Regions from separate parts of the Homo sapiens genome. Here region 2 is linked to region 1. The links are contacts of gene promoters, found by promoter capture Hi-C in blood cells and fetal thymus (Javierre and others, 2016). All regions are on one chromosome and are shown on one strand. The core of a region is centred on a gene start or on the middle of the fragment in contact, and the rest is flanking DNA. Distances in the headings are between cores, read along the strand shown. Region 1 holds the start of FMR1-AS1 (FMR1 antisense RNA 1). Region 2 holds the start of MBNL3 (muscleblind like splicing regulator 3).

Evidence for each region. Contacts are between HindIII fragments. The CHiCAGO score rates a contact against its expected background, and 5 or more counts as called.
Region 2: the fragment with the promoter of MBNL3 here is called in contact with the fragment with the promoter of FMR1-AS1 in region 1 in 1 of 17 cell types (monocytes); the score reaches 5.4 in monocytes.

The regions. Positions count from the first base shown.
Region 1 is chrX:147,908,415-147,915,290 of GRCh38, reverse strand. FMR1-AS1 (FMR1 antisense RNA 1) reads left to right here and starts at 3,474. Exons shown (of 2, transcript NR_024503.3): 1 at 3,474-3,649; 2 at 4,296-5,860. FMR1 (fragile X messenger ribonucleoprotein 1) reads right to left here and starts at 3,372. Exons shown (of 17, transcript NM_002024.6): 1 at 3,061-3,372. The coding sequence starts at 3,111. RefSeq lists enhancers at 2,952-3,051, 3,632-3,841 and a silencer at 3,212-3,551. The HindIII fragment of the contact is 5,224 bases long and covers 966-6,189 here.
Region 2 is chrX:132,484,915-132,491,790 of GRCh38, reverse strand. MBNL3 (muscleblind like splicing regulator 3) reads left to right here and starts at 2,753. Exons shown (of 9, transcript NM_001386889.1): 1 at 2,753-2,940. RefSeq lists a silencer at 1,905-2,474. The HindIII fragment of the contact is 7,236 bases long and covers 1-3,438 here.

The sequences.
Region 1 (6,876 bases), core at 2,225-4,724:
AGCTATGTATCTGAAATGACATGTTAGACCACTAATATCTTCATTAAAAATATCCTTTTGATTGTACACTTTATCATATTTAGCTGCTAGCTGCCATAATACTACTAACCAAATGAAAGTCTGTCCTCAAACACTGAACTTAAAAAAGTATAATCTAACAACAAAATTACAATCTAGTATAATTACACCATATTACAACAAGGAATCAGAAATCAGAGGTTGTATTTTCAGAAAACAAAAAGGTTTGTATCTTATGTCTCCAACATGTGATTTTTCCATCTTTAGTAATTTTCATACTAGTACACAAAACCTACAAATCTTAGGATTCATTAGGGCATTCATATTGGAGTGATACGCATTCTACATTTAAAATGGAGTTAATTCATTACCATTCTCAACACATCAAAACTTCTAGTCCAAAGAAAACAAATTATGTGGGGCAGATGCACCTAGAATAAAGACTTTATTTCATCATTATTCATTTAGAAAATACTTTGTAAAGATTTTATGAGGTGTAAGTCAAAGTGCCTTCATATCTTAACACCTGCAGGGCACTATAAAGTGGTACACGTGACCAATTTTTTCTAAGTCAAACAAATACCTAAGCATAAAAGTAGTGGCTCTGGTGATCGCTAAATCTAACTTTTAAGTTTTTAAGAATAAACACCAGAAGATAGAGAGCTGTCCTTGCAAATATGGTGGTTATGTTAGGCAAATCAAAGTCTGAATTCCATTATACTCAAGTTGTTTGATTTGTTTAGTTTTAAAAGCTTTTCTATCAATTTGATGAACAAGGTTCCTATTTCTTTTTCCATAAATGTAACACTTCTCCACAGCAGTTCATTTTTCATTGGTTTTTATTTCACATCTTTCCTGTCCATCCCACTGGACAAGCAACTCAGTTTACTTTTGCTTTACTTTTAAAACTCACAGCAGTATTATAAGTCATATAAAAATTTCAAGCTTTTTTGTTACAGAAACTGTTCTTCCATCAGTGCAGACCATTTGAGATTTTCTTAGAAATCAAACTTAATTAAATAAACATAACAGCAATTTGTCTGACACACACTTGTTCAAGTATTAACATTTCTCCTCAGGGAACTAAGGGGCAACCAACCTATTCTTCATTCACCTTCAAGTTAAACAACTTCGTTACAAAACAAAACAAAAAAGGAGGGAATTAATAGCAAAAATAGAAGGCATTTCTTATATTCCAGTCAGTGTGCAAGCAAAATCACTGGAGCAAATCATAAGTTGCTGGAAGAGAACAATAAGTACTTCAAGGCCATAATGTGCTACTTGCCCTCTGTGATAAGCAAACTTTAGTGGCATCCAATCTAAGTTTATATCACAGGTCAATCAAAATCTTGCCTAACCATTAGCCGTTACTCACACATATATATGTATATGTATTATAGTTATTAGTGCCAGAAATCTAGTGACCAAAACCACTAATCTAGGACCGTGAACGATTCTACGCAAACTCACCAGAAGAAATTATGGATCAATAAAATCAATGAAATTAAAATTTTGACTGCAGAGTCAACTGAAACAATTTCATATTCATGAGACTGTTAAGAACATAAACGCGGGGTTACCTTTTGCCTCCTTTTACAGCAAAAGGCTTTATCTTTGTGCTCAAAGTATGGAACAGTTTACATACTTTACTCATTTATGAAATATACTGATCTCCAAATGTCTTCATAAAATTGGTAAACACAGAATAAAGTCAATTGTTTATTTTCCTATAGCCAAACGTGTCCTGTCTGAAACATTCAAGCCATTCTACAATACATTTAAGAATTGTGTTGGACACTGCTAATAGCTATTTTCCAGCCTTCCTTCCACACGCACCTTCTATTGCCAAAATACTGTAGTAAGGTGGGATATTATTGAAAGAGGTTATAGACATTCAAAAGGAAATGAGAATTTATAGATGAATTTATACAGCACCTACATACCAACAAACGCACTACTGCTACATCAAATTTGTAAATCTTCCTTTTAAAACTGAAAGGTGTTAGTTGATCTGCAATGGTGTAACTTTAAAAAGCACAGTAAACCCATGAATGCCTATATAAAGCCTCAACAATTCAGTCCACTGCAACACCACAAATTCAAAGGAAATGTGGTCAAGTTCTTAGGGGCACAAAAATATTTTCGCTCAGTTAAAAAAAAAATGCCCTAGTAATAATATACTCTCAGTTAATTACCTGAAGTTTCATGGCATATATTTAGGTCTTTGGAAACTTAAACACACACACACAATTTTTAAGTAGCAGCGCTGCTAATGGTTTTAGACGCTGAAGCATGTGCATTCCTGAATTTACCCCGTTTAACAAAAAGGGGGACGCGAATATTCACGATGATCAACTTCTTCAATGCACTGCTGGGCCATGTTAGGGTCTTCCTGAAACTTTTGGATCTAAAATCTCCTCCGAAATCCACAAAGAGAAGCCACTAAAAATCAGTTGCCATTGTGATTTGGTGCCGACTACCGCTTCTTACTACTCTTTCTTCACAGCCCTCGCCCAGAACAGTGGAGCTCTCCGAAGTCCCAATGCTAGACCGGAAAAGAGAAGCCAAAGGAGACCTGAAGCCCTCTTGGCGCTGCAGGAGGCGGCCCGGCTGAAGCGCCCCCCGCTCCTCCACAACTACCCACACGACAGGCCCGGATCCCGCTGGGAGATGATGTTTAGGAAAGGGGGAATAAGCCATCGCCGTCACTTAGCGCCGATTTCGGCCCTTCCCGCCCGGCTCTAGTACCTGCCGCCGGCCCTCGCCCATCCCCAGCTCACCCCGGCGGGGCTCGGCGCCGAAAGAGAACCCTCTCCTCGCTGGTCTCTCATTTCGATAGGCGCTAGGGCCTCTCGGAGTCGGAGAGGGGCTTCCAACAGGCCCCAAGTCCAGTCCTTCCCTCCCAACAACATCCCGCCGAGCGTGCCCTGGCACCCAGGCGCGGTGCTCGGGAAGAGGGCCCCGGGCCTGCCTCCCGCCGACACCAAGAAGAAAAGGGAGGGAAGGAAGGGCGAAGATGGGGCCTGCCCTAGAGCCAAGTACCTTGTAGAAAGCGCCATTGGAGCCCCGCACTTCCACCACCAGCTCCTCCATCTTCTCTTCAGCCCTGCTAGCGCCGGGAGCCCGCCCCCGAGAGGTGGGCTGCGGGCGCTCGAGGCCCAGCCGCCGCCGCCGCCGCCGCCGCCGCCGCCTCCGCCGCCGCCGCCGCCGCCGCCGCCGCCGCGCTGCCGCACGCCCCCTGGCAGCGGCGCCTCCGTCACCGCCGCCGCCCGCGCTCGCCGTCGGCCCGCCGCCCGCTCAGAGGCGGCCCTCCACCGGAAGTGAAACCGAAACGGAGCTGAGCGCCTGACTGAGGCCGAACCCCCGGCCCGCTGCGGGTGTAAACACTGAAACCACGTCACGTGATCAACGCTGTTCCCTCCCCCCGCGGGCTCAGCCCCTCGGCCCCGCCCTCTCTCTTCAAGTGGCCTGGGAGCGCGCGCATGCGCGCTGCTGGGAACCGGCCGGGGTGCCGGGTCGAAAGACAGACGCGCGGGCCGGGCGTGCGCGGGCTTGGTGGAGGGCGGGAAGGCTGAAGGGCGGTGACAGGTCGCACTGCCTCGCGAGGGCCAGAACGCCCATTTCTGCAGAGGTGCACTCAGTGGCGTGGGAAATCAAATGCATCCGGTTATCCCAGTTCGGCCTCTCTGGGATTCCGCGGGAGGGGGTGTCTGGTCTGGTTTGGTTTGGTTTGGTTTGGTTTGGTTTGGTCCGGTTCAAAGTAGCGCAGTCTGACTGAGCGGGAGGTGGAGTGGAAGGCGAGAATAGGGGTGAAGGATTAGACAGAAGAAGACTTTGAACTAGGAACAGTGGCAACCAGGGTGACCCAGGCTTTTGTGACCCGTAGAGGCAGAAGGTGAGGCGTCTACGCCCTCTCTCACCAGATTTTGGGCGGCCCTGTGGAGACACCCTGTGCCCTTTAAGGGACATGGATTGAGTCGGGATCTCAAAATGTGAGCCTTTCCTCAGACCCAGCTTTGACCCACGTACTCGCCTTTCCTCAACTCATTTTCATACTTTCACTTGACTATATATTTTTTAAAAATTGTGTTAAGCACTTGAGGTTCATTTCTGCCCCTACTGTATGTGCACCCTGTGCCAGAGGGTGGGGTGAACACGTGTGTAGCAGTCATGCGTCCTGTCCACAGGGGCCGATGCACCTCCTTGCAACCCTTTACATTCCACTGTGAAACAAACCTCAACTTTTTCTTATTCCTGTTTTTACACCGTGCTTATAGCTGCCTTAATCCATGTTCCCTTCGGGATGCTGGTATCCAACTGAGAAGTTGACGGAGCATCTATCGTGTGCCAGACACTGTGCTAAGTGCTAACGAGAAATCGGTGAGCAAAACAGAAAAGAAAAAAAAAGAAGAAACGACTGCCAGCATTGAACTTAGTACCTAGCAAAGTAGGTGGACATAAATCAAATTGTCAGACAAGTAAATGAGTAGTTGCAGCTGTGATAAGGGGTATGAAGAATAGGCGCTTCCATGATGGCGGAACATGACCTAGTCTGGGGTGGAGAAGGGGAGATGATTCCAGCTGGAATATGGCAGGTGAGAGTTAACTAATAGCACTGAGTTGGCAGAGGCAGGATGACCTGCCCCAGGCAGGTGCCCCAGAATGAGAGGATGTTGCTGCTGGTGGAACTCCAGCTTTAAAGCGGTGGATCTAGGGCCACATTCCTCAAGGCCATAGCAAACAGGAAAGACCTTTTGGACTAGGGTCTTTGGAGTAGTCACATGAGGCCAAGAACCCAATAGGGCTGAAAGAGAATCTCATCATAGGCTGAATGGGAGCAGAGCATTAGCTGCAACTCCAATGTATTATAGTAAAAGGGGACACATTGATTAGAATGATTATACCCCTCCAAGTGTAAGCTGTTGTTCAATTTACCCAGGGCTTAAAAATATGTCAACTCTTCACAACCATTTTTACTACAAGCCACACTCAACCTGTGTTGTTCCCTGAACCTGTGATGCACTTTCATCCGTTCATGTCTCTACACATCCTTCCTGGGCCCCATAGAGGCCCTGCACCTTAAGGTTTTCAGCTGGATTCCTATTAGCTAGTTATTTTATCTCAGGTACAGAGAGTTAACTTTGCTCCTCAATTTTCAGCACATTGTCATATCAGTCCCTACAGGGTCCTTGTTTACATTATTTTATAGTGTTTATATTATTTTTTCCTCATCTTTCTCGATCCCCACTCTCATTCTTCTAGACACAAGCTGCAATATGTTCGATAGAGATCCTTGATAATTTAACACAGATAATGTTTTGTTTATGCCTCTTGCATTTACAGAGATGGTATTGGACTGTAAATCTCTATTTCCCACTGTTTTACTCAACAGTCTGTTTTTGAGCTATACCCACATTGCTGTGTGTACACCTAGTTTGCTACCGAGTATGCCAGAAATTTTATTCATACATATCCCTACTGATCGGGCATCTAGGTTACTGCCAACTCCCTGAAGTCATACTGTGGTGAAAACCCTTGTGAATGTCTTTACAAACCTTTGCCAGAACTTATTTTGTGCTCTTGTAGAACTTTGTGCATACCCTCTGCTTCCTCATTACACTGCTTGGCATATAGCAGAGACTCAACAAATGTTGAATACCTCTACTATGATGGTTAGTGTACTAGAATAATTTATTTATATTTCTGTTTTCCTTATTGGATTATTAGTACCTTCCAGACAGGGCAAATGTCTTTTCTATCTTTGTGTCCCTGGCACATTAAAAGTGGTTGATTTCAAGGTATGTTCAATGAATGAATAAATACTTATCTTCACTGCCAGTACATACTGCAACTTAGTCTTCCCCACTTGACTCTGAGTCTCAGCCTTACTCTGATCTCTAGCTTTTGATATTTCCCCTTTCAAGATAGCTTACCTGAATTCAGACACTGAGCTCAGGCCTGATCATGAGCCTGCTCTTCCAAAGTCCTCTCTCTCTCTCTCTCTTTCTCTCCTGTCTCTCGTTACAGGCAGCTCCTGCCTTCCAGTTCGTTGCTCAAGCCTAAAACTGAGACATTTTGACCCTCTTTCACACATCAGATCCATCAGCAAATCATTGTAGAATCCAGACTCTGTTTCTGATCATTTGCTCAGCTAAAACCATAGTCCAAGCTTCCATTCTCTTACCTGCATTATGGCAGCAACTTCTTCGCTGGTATCCCTGCAGTCACTGTCCACTGTTGTACCCTCTCTGACAGTTCTCAGCACAGAAGACAGAATGACCCTGTTGAGGTGTCAATCAAGTCACTCTGCCACTCACAATCCCCCAGTGACTCCCTACATCTCTCAGAGTAAAAGCCAGAGTCATTATTTATTCTGGCTTCAGTGCCCTATATACTCTGACTTCTGTTATCTCCGCTATCTCACCTTCTACTTTCCCCCTTCACTTCATTCCAGTGCATGAAATCTATCTAGTTCACCTAGATTTTCTCCTATGTTATCTTTCAGAAGTTTTACAGTTTTGTGTTTTGCATTTAGGTCTATGATCCATTTTGAGTAAATTTTTTTCAAAAGATATAAGGTCTGTATCTAGATTATTTTTTGCATATGAATGTCCAGTTATTCCAGCACTGTTTATTGAAAAGGCCATTGTTTCTCATTCCAGCCATAATGTTTTCTTTGTTGTTTCTTGAAAATAGCAGACAGGTTCTGTCTCTCTCCCCTCACTAGAGTGTAAGCTCAGTGAGAACAAAGATTTCCATTTGTTTTATTCACTGCTTGTCCCCAGTGCCTACCACAGTGTCTGGAACATAGTGAATGTTTACTAAATATTACATGAATGAACGAATATGTGTTGAGGA
Region 2 (6,876 bases), core at 1,504-4,003, about 15 Mb after region 1:
CTAAACTTTGTTTATAAGGTTTCTTTCCCCTCCAGTGTGGGAAAGAGAGAATAATAAAGTCTCATTTGCAATTTTCACTGGCCAGAAATTAAAAGCAGGAGACAATGTTGAAGCTATAGTATCCCAAAAAATAGCAAATTGACCTATTTATGCCTTAAATTTAAGACAAAACAATTATTTCAGCAGTTCAATAAGATTGAGCCAGTTTTTGTGTTATTAGCAAAACCCCGAATGTCCCACAGATGTGGCTCGCAATGGTGGACAGAGGTAAGAGAGCTGGTGTTGACCCAAGCTATGTTTAATATAAAGACTCCTTTGTTGACTCACTGTGATAACAGTTCCTCATTTGTTAGAGCATTGGGTATAAAGTTATGTAACTCACCCATGCCCTTCTCTCTAGCTGACTGTGATAGCCAACACTGCCTACTTTTTGCTGTGGTAGATCTTGGGACTGCCAAAGCCACTTCCTGTATGTCAGACACATTTGACTTTTACAGCAGTTCAGGCAATTCGGCAAATTTGAAGGAAGGTGGGAAGAGGTGGTTAGGAATTAGAGTCTTTTCCCCCTTTTCTCAAATAACTAGCAACTCCTACTCTCTTGACTTATGCTATGTTTCTACCCAGTATAACAAAGTATCGGACACCATCCCTGCGCATTGTCCCAATGACTTTCACGATACTTGCCAAAACCATCGGGGGTTTTCTCAATTATTTGAAGGGCAGTTTGTACCCAGTCTTGTCCTCCCAGCCATTACCATCCTACTCTATTATCTTGCACTTAACAAACAGATTGATTTCTTGCCTAAAATTAGCTGGAGAATTCTATTTGGATCAGTCCATCAGAATTAAAAAGTATAATTAGCCTGAGAATTCACTCCACTTTTCAACCTAACTGCTGCTTAAATATCTCCTGCAATGTTTTGCACTTTGTGCAGAGCATGTAGAACTCTGTCTCTGGGTGAAGTAGCTGATTACAGGAAAGCAGCCATGAATTGCTATGAGCTTGTCACTGACGATCCTGCATATGTGTGCGTTATCAACTACAATTGTCTTCGTAAAATTAAATAAAAGCACGCATTTATTATTGTGGGGCTCCAATTAAGGGACAGCTGGTGCTCCTATTACACTTGCATTAAATCGAAACTTGTAATTTCCCTGTGCAGATGCACACTTTTTAATCAAGATATAAAATTGCATTTGCTTTGTCCATTTTCCAAAGTATCTGGAACCTTACCTCAGGGTTCCTCTTATCCTGCAAACTCCGTGGAAGAAGGGGAACAGATTGCACTGATCAGCATTTCCCTGTCTGAAATTCTTAGAGGGAAATAAACGATTGGGGCATTTATGAAAGATAAAACCCCCAAGAAGGCAGCTGGTGAGTATGAATGTATTTATTTAGCCTGTAGCGAGTGGACTTATTCATCGACTAAGATCAATTTTGAAAGGACCCATTTCGCCTCACCTGTCTGGGAAGTGTCTATGAGCGTCCCGCTGTGAACCACACTGCCTTTCTCACTGGCACTTCAGTTCCTGAAGAGCCAGAAACTTTGCACCCCTACCCCAACCCCGCCTCTGGGGATGTGTGCCTGCTTCGTTTGTTTTCGCTTTTGTAAAATCTGAGCGTTATGATTTGTCCCCCTTTCCCTTCCTAATGAAATGACAAAGGGTCTGTGCAGCGGGGGCTGGGCTGCTGGGTTTGGGGGCGAGGCGCCACACCCCCTGAGAATAAAGCCCGCGCTGCGCTCTCGGAGAACCAGGCACGAGTGAGCGAACCACACAAAGAATATATTTCGCGACGAAACAGCGCCCTACAGGAAGAAAGTGCCCGCACTCCGAGCGTGAGCCGCAGCGCGACTTTTTGGCGCTCTTTGGGAGCAGTGAGAGAGAGGCGGAGGCCAGAGAGTCCGGGGTGGGCGCGGGAGCCGGGGCGGCCCTTGGCCGCATTCCCGCCCGTCCCGCAGCGGCGCGCGGAGCCAGGTGAGGTTGGCGGCGGCGCCGCGCTACCTGGCCGGGCGGGGCGGGGCCGGGCGGCCGCGTGCGCCGCTTCCGAGTCCGGCGCTCCGGATGCCCGCCCGCGCTCCGCTGGCCCGCGGAGTTTCGCGGGAGTTTCCGTTTTGGCGCCTAAAGCCCCTCGCTGGCGCCGTTTCCCTCCGCGTGCCGCGTCTGTCCGGCGCGGGACGCACGGAGGCGCGGCCCCAGCCCGGGCTGCCTGGGGTCGGCGGGGCTGCGCGAGGGGACGTCTGGCGTCCGGCGGAGGGCACTGGCCCGGGAGGAGGGCACGCCTTTGGCAAAGGCCGGGCGGGGTTGGGACCGGGGTTGCTATGGTAGCTGCGAGCCCGGGCGGGAGCCCCACGCCCGGCCTCCGCGAGGGAGCTGGGGCGCTCCGAGGTGTGCTCCGAGTGGACTGAACCAAGAGCCTGGGAGGAGCGGGTAGGGCCGGCCCGTGGCCTTGTCCCCTCCTCCCACAGCCCGCCGGCCGGCCCCGGGAAGGGGCCTCGAGGAGCCCAGAAAAGAAAGTATTCTGGCCCCTGGAACCGAAAGGAGTCTTGCAAAAAGCACGAAGGGGTCAAGGGGGCCGAAGGGAGAGGGGGAACCGTCGCCTCCGTCCGAGAGTCAGCGTGCGCGTGTCTGTAGACTTGACATTTTATACCCCAGAGCGGCCGACTTGGAGCCGGGTTGCAAGTCCCAGCCCTGAAGTTCTGGAGGTGGGGCGGGCTTTAATTTGCTTATATCTAATGATTTCAGGAACCTCGCTTTAAAATGGCGGCATTCAGTATGCACCCCTGCTAAAGGCTCTCCCGGCACCGGGGCCACCTCGCGCAGCGCTGCTTTTGCTTCTGCCGCTAACAGATGGCATGTGCCGCTGTCGCTGCCGCTGCCCCTGCTGCTGCCGCTGAGAGCAGGGCCCCTTAGCCTCTGGGTTTGCGCTAGCAGCGTAAGGTAAGGCTGGAGATGAATTGGGATTTGTAAGAGAGGCTGCCTTCCTCGGACGCCGAGGAAATAATGCCTTTTAAACTTCATTTTACAAAATAGCAAATAGGAGGAAAAGTCATCCTGCAACTTTGTTGCGATTTTAGAGCTTTGATCATTTTCCTCCTCCTTTCCTCCTCCTCCTTTTTCTTCTTCCTTCTCTTCCTCCTCTTCTCTTCCTCCTCCCCTTCCTTCCTTCTTTCTTTTTTTCTACTTTCTTCTTTTTAATTTAAAGGAACTTCTTGCATGGCATATAATCAGCAAATGCTTTTTAACAACGAATTTCCCCATTTTCACGCGATATCGTGAGCAGTGCCACAGCTTCCTTGCAGAACCTTGTCTCTTCCTGCCCTGAGTCAACACGTTTGGGCAGCTCGCTTTTACTACTGGGGTTTGAAGGGCATGAGAGTAGATTTTAGGAGACTATTAAAAAGGGAACTTTAGTTTTTAACACTCACACAATAAGCTTTTATGGTAAGAAAACGAAATTAAACCCAGACGAGTAATGAAAGTTGACATTTAAGTGATTCTTTGTTGTGGTTTCATAATTAGGGTAATAGACCTACTGTGTGTTTTTCTGAGCACTCTTAGATAGCTAGCTAGCTAGCTAGCTAGCTAGATGATAGATAAAACAGATAAATTAATTGTGGCTCTAATTAAAGTAATATGTTTTAAAGGAGTTATTTTCTCCTAGATGTTCTTACATCGTTTGTAAATTGAGCTGGGATCCCCACAGCCTCTCCGTATTTGTGGGTAGACTTCATGGGAAAGAATCAATTAAAACAAAACTTGCAAGATTTAATTTTGAAGTGATTGGTACTTTTTTTATTAAGCGGACTCCCTGCTTTAGTGAATAAACGTTTGGGTGATTACTGATATAATGTTTGGAAAACAGATTGTTGGTATGTGGGAATGACTAAACATCCATGCTTGATACAATTTATCTGAATTTTGTTTTGTTTTGTTTCCCCCTCCAGTGAAAGGTAAATAGACAATGAGGCTTATCAGACACCTTGGATTTTTCCTGATTATATTTCCATCTTCTCCTTGGCCCATGAAAATCTAATCCTGAATGTTTAACTACTTTTTAAAATAATTTTTAACTTTTTTCTAATGTGCGATACTTTTGGGGGATGCTTTCATATTTACCAACACTTCTTCAAATATAGACTAAAATGGGCTTCTGCCCACAGCTCAGCTGATAATATTCTATCGCTGTTCACTCCTTCTCCCAAAGCAGTAGAAACTACTTGGTTGGCAGACGCTCTGCTACTAAATTTAGCAAGTGTGTGGAAAGGGAGAAAAATATTGTTTTGCCCTTATTAAAGCATGGTGCAGTTTTCTGCCCAGGTGCTGTAGTCTACCTAGAAACAAACAACCAAACTGTTTACAATGGAATTACTATACAACAAATTTTCAGCAGTTTTTCATATTATTCTTGAAAGAAGTATGTGGGGCAATTCATTGCTTCATGTCTAAAATGAGAGTTCCTGCAGGTAGAGCAATAAACACTTGCATTTTGGTAAAGGGAGGATGAGAAAAAGCAACTTCTCCCATTTTTAGTGATTATGGACTTAGATCCCAGTTCAGTACTGTTTGCTTCCGGATGTGCTACCTTGCTGCTAAAAGACTTCGGACCAAATGCATCCTTAAAAAAAAAGAAAAAAAGAAAGAAAGAAAAGTGAAAATACTAAACCTTGAGGCCAGAATAGACAAGCTAAACTGGTGTCAGAGAAATTAGGAAATTTTGCCAGTTAACATTCTGCTGCCTCATACAGTGATGAGATTGGAGACCTTATATGAAAACATAAGTGAAGGAGTTTGTAAAAAAAAAATGTTTTGAGAGATAATTGATATAGTGCTGGGCTAGAGGTGGTGACTGCATGTTTTGCTCTACTTCTAAGAGCTACTTCATTTCTCTAATTTCCTTTGCTACTTTAAGCAATCGTAATGACTCCCAGGACTATTATAAAGTACCTTTTTTTTCCTCAACTGTCCACTTCAGGCATTTCACAACAGCTGCTTTTTATGATTATGAGCTGGTAGCAAAGGACCTTTGGTATTCTCTTGCACCACCCTCTACCTAGATAATGCTTTGCACAAACTAGGTGCTTAATAAATGTTACATTAAAAAGAAGAATAGCTTATAAACTCACAGTGGAATAGATTTTGGGTACAGCTTTTAATTTAAACGGAAGGCATTTTTATGCACTCACAAGAACCTAAACATTCAAAGAAGAGTAGAATGTACATTCCCCTAGTTGTCTGCATTGTATTTGCTTCTAAAGGGTTCTCTTGCCTCTCATTGTACTTCCAGGCACTTGTATACTTCATGCTTTTGACCAGTAGGTGTATTATTATCTCTCCAGCTTCACTGTGATACTTCCCAGTATCACAGCAGCTTGGGAATAAAAAAGGTTTTGTCTTTTGAGTGATTGTATAGTACCACACATGCTGGAACAGTGACAGTCTCTTGACTGTTGTGCAGATGTTGACAGTATAGTTTAGTACAGTTTTGTTCTCCACCCAGCTGCCTTTATGTGTGAGGGACGAGGGGAGGGAATGGAGTGAGAAGCTCTAAAATGATGAAGATTTCTATTGATAACATTTTACTTTTATTCTGCTTATAGTACAATAAATTCAGGAAGGTGGCAGAATTTTTCTGTTTTCAAATAAATAATGTTGCCTGATAGGCTTACAAACAGGGATTGGGGCATAGCTGACAGTACATAAGTTATAGTACATTTTTGACAAGTAATTTCATCCTGTAATTAAAGTTAGATAATGGTCACTGCCATGTTAACATTATCAAGTGTCTGTAAGAGCATGAAGGCTACACTCACCTTTACTTCATCAAGGTTCTTCCATGCTGGTGAGTTTTCTTATGACATTGTCTACTAGGCAAAACAGATGGATTTTTCCTCATTCAAATGTATGTGATATCAAGAAAATAGAAATCAGAAGTTGTGTTTGTGGGATTTTTCTGCCTTTCTCTAGGTGTGATATAGCTCTCACTTCAAATATAGAAAGAAACCCGAGCCTCAGCTAAAATGAGATGGACACTTTTCCTGAAAGAGAAGAAACTGTGTCTGGGAGCAAGTTGTTTAATTGTCAATTAACCAACCAGCAAACAAACATAAATTATAACTGAAAGAAAGCAATTAGATCTTTCATAATGTGGGCTTTTAGGTCTTAAGGATACCAGATGGTTCCATGACATTCTGTTCTTCCTAAATGGTTATCTATTGCCTCAAGATAGCCAAATGACAGTGTTGGAAAGGCAACTTTGAGAATTAGGATAAATAAGGTATCAGTTGTCTTAATGGATGTTAATAACATCCACATGACCTGAAAGGGATAAGAAAATATTTTTTCAGATCATTGTAGTAAAAATGCATTATTAACTCATCATTTAGATCTGCTTGGTATTAGATTGAGTGACATTGTTTTTAAAAGATTGATGGAGAAAACAATACAATCTGGGAAGTAGGACCTTATCATTTTTATTTGAGAAATAATGGGACTTCCAAATTGCCTGGGCACACAAACACACACGTACATGAGTGTACAAATTAGTGGTCAATTCAAAACAATGTATACAGATGTGCATTGCTTTCTCACTGGAAGATTATAGGAAAATATTTTTACAGTATTCCTCCAATTCTAAGAATGAAATAAAAAAGTTCACTGTAAACTATTATAAATATTTGATATAGTGATGTCACTCTGAGGCTCAGGAAAAGAACCAGGGCTTTGAATGTTCAACTCCAGGCAGTTAACTTTCAGAAAAAAATAAAAAATAAAAAGATGCTTTGCTCAGAACTCAAGAGGAAGCAAGAATAAAAGGAGGCTTGATTTAAATGTGTGTGTGTGTGTGTGTGTGTGTGCGCGTGTGTATTCTCCCTT